2 separate regions of the Homo sapiens genome follow, and region 1 is linked to region 2. The links are contacts of gene promoters, found by promoter capture Hi-C in blood cells and fetal thymus (Javierre and others, 2016). All regions are on one chromosome and are shown on one strand. The core of a region is centred on a gene start or on the middle of the fragment in contact, and the rest is flanking DNA. Distances in the headings are between cores, read along the strand shown.

Region 1 (3,399 bases), core at 900-3,399, 130 kb before region 2:
CTCTGAGGGGTTTGGGAACCAGGGGCTTTCGGGGAGATGATGGGTCCTTGAACAGAGCAGAGATTTGGAACCAAGGCTAAGATGTTAAATCCTAAAGGGGCCTTGAGGGGAGGGCAGGAGCGAGGCTTAGGAATCTGGGCTCTCTCAGGGATAAATGGGTAGGGTTGGGGGCCTAGTGATGACAGATATCACAATTCTAAACAGCAAGCTCCTCACAAATGGGGGTTATCATTGTTACTGCTGGAGCAGGTCGGAGGGTATCTGTATGCCAGAGGCAGTCACAGTGGTGGGCGGGCTCAGTTGAGAAATCTGGGCTGTCAGGTGAGGTGCAGATGGAGGCCAAGTCGTGGGATGGCACAAGGACCTCTGGGTCTTTTAGAGGTTTCCAAGGACTCCTGGAGCCAGAAAGGTGTGGGGAGAGGAGGGAGCAGTGGGATCCCAAGATGTCAAGGCTAAGATTGGTCCCCACAGGGCTCAGAGGGTGGGTGGACCCCATACTGCCCCACCCCGAAGGGGATGGCGTGGAGGCTTTGGGTCTCCACAGGGGTCAGGGACTGAGGACAGGTTCTGTGGGGGCAGGAGGGGCCAAGCAGGTGCTCTGCAGCCCCTGAGCCTGGCCCTGGGCTCGCCAGCAGAAGCAGGACCGGATTGAGGGCTTGAAGCGGCACATCGAGAAGCACCGCTACCACGTGCGCATGCTAGAGACCATCCTGCGCATGCTGGACAATGACTCCATCCTCGTTGACGCCATCCGCAAGATCAAGGACGACGTTGAGTACTATGTTGACTCATCCCAGGACCCCGACTTCGAGGAGAACGAGTTTCTCTACGATGACCTGGACCTCGAGGACATTCGTGAGGCCCTGGGGCTGATCGTGGCACAGGAAGTGAGGGCCCAGAATGGGCTGTGTGAGCCAGCTAAGCATGCCCTTCTTCTGCCCCCACAGCACAGGCGCTGGTCGCCACCTCCCCCCCCAGCCACAGCCACATGGAGGATGAGATCTTCAACCAGTCCAGCAGCACGCCCACCTCAACCACCTCCAGCTCTCCCATCCCGCCCAGCCCAGCCAACTGTACCACGGTGAGGCCCCACGGGACACTAGTACCTTGTGTTTCCAGCAGGGCAGGACTCGAGGAGACAAATCTGGGTCACTCCAAAGTGGCTATGGGAGCGTAATTGAGGAAACACAGATCTAGGTATCCAGGGTCTAGGCTCTTGGAGCACACGCTAAGGTCCTATATCTGGGTCCCTAAAGGACATAAAGAGCAATAGGGTGCATCCCGCGCCAGTTTAGGTCCTGGATCTGGGAAGTGGGAGGGGCCGGTGCCTGGGCTGCCTGAGGAGGCTGGGTAGCTGGCCACCTTGGGCAGGGATCCAAGGGTTGGCTTCCCTGTGGAGAGCAGGTTCCCAGATCCTTAAGAGGCTGGTGGGTCAGTGCTGGCTCCCAGAAAACAAGAAGACTGGAGAGCCTGAATTGAGATGGTTTCTCCAGGCAGATTAAGGACAGCCATTTGACCAGCTCTGGGGCCGCAATGGCAGTCAATTGGGCCCAGGTCCCCGGGGCATTCAGAGATTGGCGGTTCTCCATCAGAGCCCCAGAGGTCACACAGGTTTCTATTCTGCCTCCCCTACCTCAGGAAAACTCTGAAGATGATAAGAAGAGGGGACGTTCCACAGACAGTGAAGTCAGCCAGGTGGGTGTGAGCCTGGACCGGGTGGGCACGCCATTCACTCCTCTGTTGCTTCCCAAAGGCATCTTGAGGCCTGAGCGCCGGCCACTGTGCTGGGCTGGTGGACACAGGTGGCTCAGAAATCAGTGCTGCCCTGAGGGCAGGTGGGCAGGGCAAGTGGACAGGTGACTGGTGCTGTGGTCAAGGGGGTAGCACACAGGTCACCCTTGGCCTGGCCAGGCAGTCAGGAGATGCTGCTGTGGAGTGCCCTGGGCTTCACAGTCAGGTGAGTTTGCCTGGCAGGGAGAGGTGGCAGCCAGTAACATGGGCAAGTTGTGACAGAAAGTTTGGAAGTGAGGAGAGATGAGTCTGGCCAGGTCTGCAGGGCCAGGGGCCCAACTGTGAGCACAGGGACTGGGACTGTCAGGCTGAGGGGCTCAGGCTTTGTGGACCTGAGTGGCCTCCAGAGTCCAATAAGCCTAGGAAGCGATGGGGCCTTTGCTGTGCTGATAATACACACTGCAAATTTCTGAGAGGAGACGGTGGCGGGCAGTGCTTCTTCAACTCCTTTGACATCTCCCAGGACAGGAGCACGCTTTCGGAAACGCTGCTACAGAACAATGTTAGGCAGGAGCAGCATGGGCCTGAGGCCCCTCTGTGGGCTAACGGGATGGATGGTTCCAAGGGGACACCCTGAGTGGGCATTGAGGAGGCTGGTGTGGAGACTAAGGGGACCCGCAGGTAGTAGTGAGGGCGGGCAACAGGGCCAGGAGGTGATGAGGAGAGACACTGAGGCAGGTACTCCAGGGGCCAGGCTGGGCTCTGCCACCTTCCCAGGCCCCCACTGCCAAGCAGCGATGCCCAGGAGAGAAGTGGGTAGTCAGTCCTGTTGGGCGCTTGGTAAGCGCAAGGTGCCTGTGGGGTGGCTGGAAAGAAGCCCAGGAGGTGGTTAGGCTCAGCAGCCCGAGTGCTGTCCGCAGATTGCCTGCGGTAGGGATACCATGAGCACATTTACCCTCCCACCACTTTCTGGAGTGCTGGTAACTTCCAGCCCTGTGAGTAGCTTCTGTGACCCTTCAGGTGACATTCAGAATTACTATCCAATTTCCAGCTGTTTTTCCTTCTACTCTTGGACATTAGGCGGCTCCAGCTAATCTCATATTGAGAACACTTAAGTGTTTCCCACTAGTCCTCTGGCTTCCAACAGATGGATCTTCTCTGGCTGACAACCTAAGTTGTGTGTCAGATCCCTGTGGGGGTGTCCATGGGGCGGTGTCCAGGCAGGACTTGGGAAGCTGGGCAGGCTGGAAATCAGTGTGAGTGTTTTAAGCATGAAGGTGATTGAAGCCATGAGGGTGAGTAAGGTCACCCAGGTCCCCAAGAGGGCAGGAGCAGGTGGGGGCAGCGAGGCCAGAGAGGAGGCTGCTGGGACAAAGATGGAGCCTGAGGTGGGGGTGGTGAGGGAGACCAGCTGGCCCACTGGGTCCTGACCCTCTGCTCTCTCCCACCCGCAGTCTCCAGCCAAAAACGGCTCCAAGCCTGTCCACAGCAACCAGCACCCTCAGTCCCCAGCTGTGCCGCCCACCTACCCCTCCGGCCCCCCGCCTGCTGCCTCTGCCTTGAGCACCACTCCTGGCAACAATGGGGTCCCCGCCCCCGCAGCACCCCCAAGTGCCCTGGGCCCCAAGGCCAGTCCAGCTCCCAGCCACAACTCGGGCACCCCTGCTC
Region 2 (6,148 bases), core at 190-2,689:
TTAAATGGGGCTCCCACCTCCCACATCATCCCCAGGGCTGGGCTGTGAGAGGGAGACACCCCTGAGAGCCTCCTTCCTGAGGGCAGAGCCTGGGGCTGGGATCCCTGAGTGTCCTCTCACCTGTCATCACCAGCACCAGGGGGTCACTGAGCTCAGACCACCGAGCGCGGCTGTAATACTGACAGCCATATCGCCCTGTGTGTTCCCAGGTGATGGATGGGATGTGGAACTGGCCGTTCTTCACAAGCTCTGGTCGTATCCGTGTAATCCAAGATGCTGATTTTTTCTCCCTATATAGACGGTACTCCTGGGCTTCAAGGCTCCCCTGACAACTGAGGGTGACGGGACTCCCCTGGGTGATCACAGAGTCTGGCTCAGCCCACAGGGTGGGCTTGGGGATGGTCCCTGGAAGGAAATCAAAGGTCAGATTCGAAGTCATTTCCCACCCAACAGATCTCAGCTCTCAGCCCAGGACCCTCCAGATGCCCCCATCAGTCAGTCCAGAACTTCTAATCCCCATCCCCAGCTGCACGGAGGTGGCCCCTTGTCCCCAGTGAGGAGGAGGGACCTGGGAGAGCTGGGGACAGACTCACCTGTCTGCACGCGGGTCCTGGGGCCCAGACTCAGCCCTGGAAGAGAGTTCCCTGTGAGGGATTTGCCCCCTGAAGCCTGAGCAGGTCCTCCCCTCCCTGGGATCTTTGTGAGCCCCTGGGGTCTCCTTAGGGACCAGAGTTTGGCTGTGGGGTGAGGTCCCTCCTAGGTTAGAAGCTCCCCTCTCTCTTCAAATCTCACCGAGACAGATCAGGACTGTGACGATGGGGGTCATGGCGTCTCCTCCCACTGCCCTGCTCTGCGGATGGATGAGCCCTCGGTGCTGGCGGGACAGAGACACACAGAGAGAAATAGCCTCCCCTCCTTCCCACCCTGTGTGGACACTCAGAGGCTGGGTCCTTCTCATGGGGTGTTGTCATCTGCAGCCACACAAGAAGCGGAACTGCCCTCCCAGGAGCCTGACTCTCATTCTTTTAGAGCTGAGGTGGGGGCAGGCACTGGGCCCTCTGCAGACATTTCAGACTGTAATGGGGTCTTTCCTGACCCCCAGCCACTGTCTGTCTGGTTTCTCCTCGTCTCACCGAGAGCCGGGATGTAGCAGCAAATAGAACTGGTGCTTCTTGTGTCTGCCCTTCCTGATGAGGGTAGCAGTGGCTTCCCCTTCCTTCTCACAGCTTCCCACATGGTCACCCTCCCTCCTTCAGCCCATCCATCAGCACAGCGTTGTGGGGTCCTTACCATGGCAGTCGTCCCTCCAGCCCTGGAGATGCTTCAGGGAAGACCCAGGTCCATGCTGCAGGCAGACTCAGATCAGCAGAGAAGCATCTCGCCTCTGGCTGTGCTGTCCAGGTTGAGCTGTGTGTGGCAGTGAGCACAGAGGAGAAATGCAGGGAAGTAGGGGAAGAAAAGTTGACTTCTTTCTTGACACTGGATTGTGGGTTTTCTTTCAACCAAATAGTCCCCTCTTAACTTCCCCTTTTTAAATGTTTTTGCTCCAGCGTCCACTCCCTCCCCCCCGGGAAGAAACCTCTGAGTCTTTCCTGCCTCCTCGGTGCCCATTGCGTCCTTAGCCGTCCCTCTGCACCTCAATTCCTGGTCAACATTTTGGGAACAATGACTTATGTTTGAGCTTTGATTTGGGGAGTGGGGGAGGGAGTTGATATTTATTTGATGACTGGTTATCATCCGCTGCCTACGTGACCTTGGTTTGTAATGTCCCATCACTGAGCCTCAGTTTCTTCCTTTGCAGATTGTTGTCATGAATCCCACTCGTCACAGTGGTTGTGGGGTCAGTGGTGCCTGGGACATTGGGAGGGGCTCATTTGTGCTTGATTTCCAGACCAGGGTAAGACCTGAGGCTTTGGGACGTGAGAGGATCTTGCTGTTGGACTCCACATTCTGTAGGTGATTGATGAGTCCACTCAAGATGTCACATCTGACCGTAATGGAGAAACGTATGTGTAGCATTTCTGAAATACCCAGAGTATCAAGGTCATGAGCAGAAAAAGACATGTGGAAACCCCAAGTGTAGACGGACTCACAAGAAAGAACAGAGGCCAGAGGTGAGATGCCACAGGGTCCCGGGACCATCAAGGGCTCATTAGGGTGGAGGTTTCCACCACTGAGTGGAGCCGGGAGAGGAACCCCGGGATCTGCAATGACAGTGAGGGGCTCAGGGCTCCAGACCAAGGTGGGAGGCTGCGTCCTCTAGCTACACCTGAGGCTGGAGTGGACCCCAAGCAGCCCAGGGGAATTCCCTCAAGGGAGTGCACCAAACTGTCCAGACCTGCTGGAATTCCAAGGAAAGAAGCACTAAACACCAGGGTGTTCATAGAGCATTTATTAGGGGGACCTCTGCACAGTGGGGCATCCTTGTCTTCTTGCCCAGTGTCTCCTTGTGGATCTCAAGGATGTGCTTCCACATAGCAGCATGTTCTTCAGATGGACAAGGAGACACTGGGTATTCTATCCAAAGCTTTAACCTAAAATAAAAACAAAACCAAAAATAAACCCCTAGAAAATATGATCTCTCAGTACAGTTGTTTCTTGGGATACACAGGCAATTCGTTTCAGTACCCCCTACATGTACCAACACTTGCTCGTACTCCAGCCCTGACGTTGTCTCTGCTGGGTCTGCATATAGGAAAAGTCTGCCGTTCATATACGCAAGTCTTGTTTCTCACAAATGCTATAGTTTTGATCCCCGTTTGTTTGGAAAAAGTGTGCATATAAGAGACCCCTGGAATTCAAGGCTGCATTGCTCCAGGGTTGCCTGGATTTTGAGTTTATTTGGGAGTGAGAAGCAAGGATTACAATATGGAGTGCATGGCATGGCAAGCCACAGTGTGTCCAGAGAGGGAAGTGTGATGTTGTGATATATGCTGGTTTTCACCCGCAGTTCCTGGCTTGTAACTCCCATAGCCCTTGTTATAGTCTTTTGTTATAACATTGGCTGTGCTGGGCCTCAGGGGAGGCCTCTGACCTCCTCCTGCCCTTCCTTCACCTAACCCAAAGTAAGACTCGAATGTTCCCTGCCTTTCTGATAGTGGATCTTAAGACCCTCCCAGAAGACAGTCTCACCCTGTTCCTTGTGGGAGGAAATGCTGATGTCATGAAGCTTTCATAAAAGCCCCAGAGGACTGGGTTTCATGAGTTTCTGGGTGGCTGAGCATGCTAAGGCTCCTGGAGGGCGACGCCCAGGGAGGGTATGGAAGCCCCGGGCCTCTTCCCCCATGCCTCCTCCTATGAGTTTCTTCATCTGTGTCCTCTGCAGTGTGCTTTGTATTCAACCAGGAAATGTCAGTGTTTCCTGAGTTCTGTGAGCTGCTACAGCAAATTAATCAAACCCAAAGAGTGGGGCATGGGATCCCCAACTTGAAGCCAGTCAGTCAGAAGTTCTGGAGGTCTGGACTTGGGAATGGTGTTGGGGGCAGTTTTGGGGAATGGGCCTTCAATCTGTGGGATCCGGGACTGTCTCTGGGTAGACAGCACCAGAGCTGACTTAGAGGACACCCAGCTGCTGTTCGCTACTGCGTCTGGGGAAAAAAACCCCATACATCTGGTCCTAGAAGTCTTTTTCTGTGTTGATGATTCCTGTGACGTGAGAGTAGAGGAAAAGCACCGTAGAGAGAGCTCTCTGTACATAGAGAGGTAAAGGAAGTTCTTATCAGCAACAAGGGAGAGCCTGACAGAGCTGCCTGGAAACAGAGTTCCCTGGTTCCACAGGTTCAAAGCCAGAGTTGCTGTCAGTCCATTGGAGGAGATGCTGTTGCTGGTCAATGGTTCTCTTGAGAGCATCTTATCTGAATTCCTGACGTCCTAAAGAACATCTAGTGATAAACCTTGTCAAAGCAGAAGGGGCTGAAGGACATGGAAGAGTTTCTTATGGGTTTTTTAAAAGTCCTTAGAAACAGTTCTTATCTGAGACGTGGAAGCATGGGCCTCCTCTCCTTCAGGCCTTCCTGGCCCTGTGGGGTCTGAGTTTGACCAAAGTCATCTCATCCTTGCACCTGTAACTTTTCTATTGGGAGTCTGCAGTGAAGGGATGGGGTTACGAAGTTTAACCTGAGAGTTTCAGGAATTTGGTTCAGGGGAGGGCTTGTTTCTACACTTTTAGCAAAAGGGTTAATTTTTCAGTGTTTTCTAGAAACAACCTAAAGTGCTTTATCAGTACTTGGGGATGCTCAAGACCTCAGCTTGGGTTCCAGCCTGCAGGTGGAAACATGCATCTGTCCAACCCACAGAACAGTCATGGCCCTTTGTCTCACTCTCAGAACAAGGAAAAAAGTGGAGGAAACTGTGGGACCTTAGAGACTGTGACTCCCCCTCTTCTGTGTTTGTGGACAGACCCTGGGATGACTCAGTGACCCGGGCTACACTCAGCACTGAGCCACCTTCCCGGGTGTGCATGACACAGATGCGCTTTATCATTGTTGGACCGGGCATCTCTGACCCTGGAGTGTGAGGCTCACATGGACCCCGCCATGCCGGGCATAACACAGAGGTGATTCTAAGCTTGGGAGCATGGACACCGCAGGGCAGGAGCGGCTACAGCAATGCCCTCATCAGCTTTCCTTCCTGAGTCAGCCTGGGGAGAAACCCTATATGGAAGATCAGGTGTGTGGGAGAAAAACCCACCCCAGAGGAATAAAAATCAAAGAGTCCGTTAGAGAAAAAACAGGCAATTGTAGAAATGAATTAGGAAGCTATTGTGATGTGAAAATAGTAAATTATATTAACACATTTAGAAATAATTTCATCCAGAACAAGACACAGCTGAAATGATAAACATTGTATTGGTGTAGAATATTTACTAAAATTTTTCATTAGTCATCAGAGAAAAACTAGAAATGAAAAAAATAGAAAAGATAATTAATGCACACAAGAAATGGAATGAAAAGAGGAAACAGATATCTCTCTTTGGATCACACTTTCAGAATGAAGGAAATAAGGAGTATGTTATTCAGTAAATACTTGCAAAGAAAATGGTTGACATTTTTATAGAAATGAAGAAAGAACATGAGTTTAACGTGAACAAATTCATAAATAACATCAATGTCTTAACTATGATAGAGTAAAAGATACCTAGAATAGATACAAAGTAATTTTAAAACTACTGGAGAAAATGAAAATTATTGTCCAATGAAAGACAAGCACATTGGGACTGGATTTCCCAAGAGTAAAAAGTGCAAGAAAATGACTGGGGGCTGAGGTTCAAGTTGGCTGAATGGAAAGGGCTGGAGTCTGCCTACTCACTAAGAGGACCCAAAATAGCGAGTAAATACCAACAGGTCAAGTGGATCTTCCAAGAGGATGCTGGGGTTCACCTGAGAAACATGAGGACATGGAGAGAAGAGAAGAGAAAAGGTGGGAGCCAGGAGAGGCTCCTAACACGGGGAAGGGGTGAGTGAGTGAGAGATTCACCAACACGGGGAAGGGGTGAGTGAGTGAGAGATTCCCCAACACGGGGAAGGGGTGAGTGAGTGAGAGGATCCCTAACACGGGGAAGGTGTGAGTGAGTGAGAGGATCCCTAACACGGGGAAGGGGTGAATGAGTGAGAGCCTCCCTAACACAGGGAAGGGGTGAGTGAGTGAGGGGTCCCTGGCATCTACACCTCTGCTGTGGGCCCTTAGGATCCTGCCCACAGGAGAGCGCCTGTCCCCTCTGGGCCTCCAGAGGCCCACAGTTTGCTCCTGGAGACTGTACCAAGGCCCCACTGGAGCCCACGTGGAATCCCACAGGCTTCTGATCCCTGAGCAGCCTGGGTCCAGCTGCCACTGCCTTAGCAGGGAGGGAGGAGGCCAGGCACCTCTGTGGGCCCCAGAATAAGTATGACAGCTGGGGCACAGGAGCAGCCAAGCTGAGCACCACACAGCTGCCCACCTCTGTTGCTTCCTGCGAAATGGGGCTTCCTTCCTGCTAATGGGGCTTGCCAGCTGCAGGGCCCCAGTCACCCGTCCTGCCCCCACCCGAACACCGTGGCCCTGGCTCGGTGCCCTCTGAAAGCCCAATGCTCAGAGGCCCCTGACAAGCCCTTTGCAGTCACTGCCACCTCTGCCTCTGCCCCTGCTGCCCCAGGCCCAGGGAGGGTGTGGG

What was found. The method cuts DNA at HindIII sites, captures the fragments that hold promoters and counts their contacts. A CHiCAGO score of 5 or more calls a contact.
Region 1: a contact is called between a fragment that was not itself captured here and the fragment with the promoter of LILRB2 in region 2, in 1 of 17 cell types (neutrophils). The highest score is 5.9, in neutrophils.

Annotation. Positions count from the first base shown.
Region 1 is chr19:54,144,963-54,148,361 of GRCh38, forward strand. It overlaps CNOT3 (CCR4-NOT transcription complex subunit 3), which reads left to right. Exons shown (of 18, transcript NM_014516.4): 8 at 636-855; 9 at 948-1,081; 10 at 1,639-1,695; 11 at 3,186-3,399. It overlaps LOC102724273 (a long non-coding RNA gene), which reads right to left. Exons shown (of 4, transcript XR_001754001.3): 4 at 1,617-1,789. Among named protein-coding and RNA genes, the nearest start is that of CNOT3, 8.9 kb to the left of the region's middle. The HindIII fragment of the contact is 6,124 bases long and covers 1-3,399 here.
Region 2 is chr19:54,279,671-54,285,818 of GRCh38, forward strand. LILRB2 (leukocyte immunoglobulin like receptor B2) reads right to left here and starts at 1,440. Exons shown (of 14, transcript NM_001080978.4): 1 at 1,291-1,440; 2 at 793-874; 3 at 594-629; 4 at 121-405. The coding sequence starts at 826. It overlaps MIR4752 (microRNA 4752), which reads left to right and starts at 2,439; the gene lies at 2,439-2,510. RefSeq lists enhancers at 1-553, 5,785-6,148. The HindIII fragment of the contact is 13,229 bases long and covers 1-2,525 here.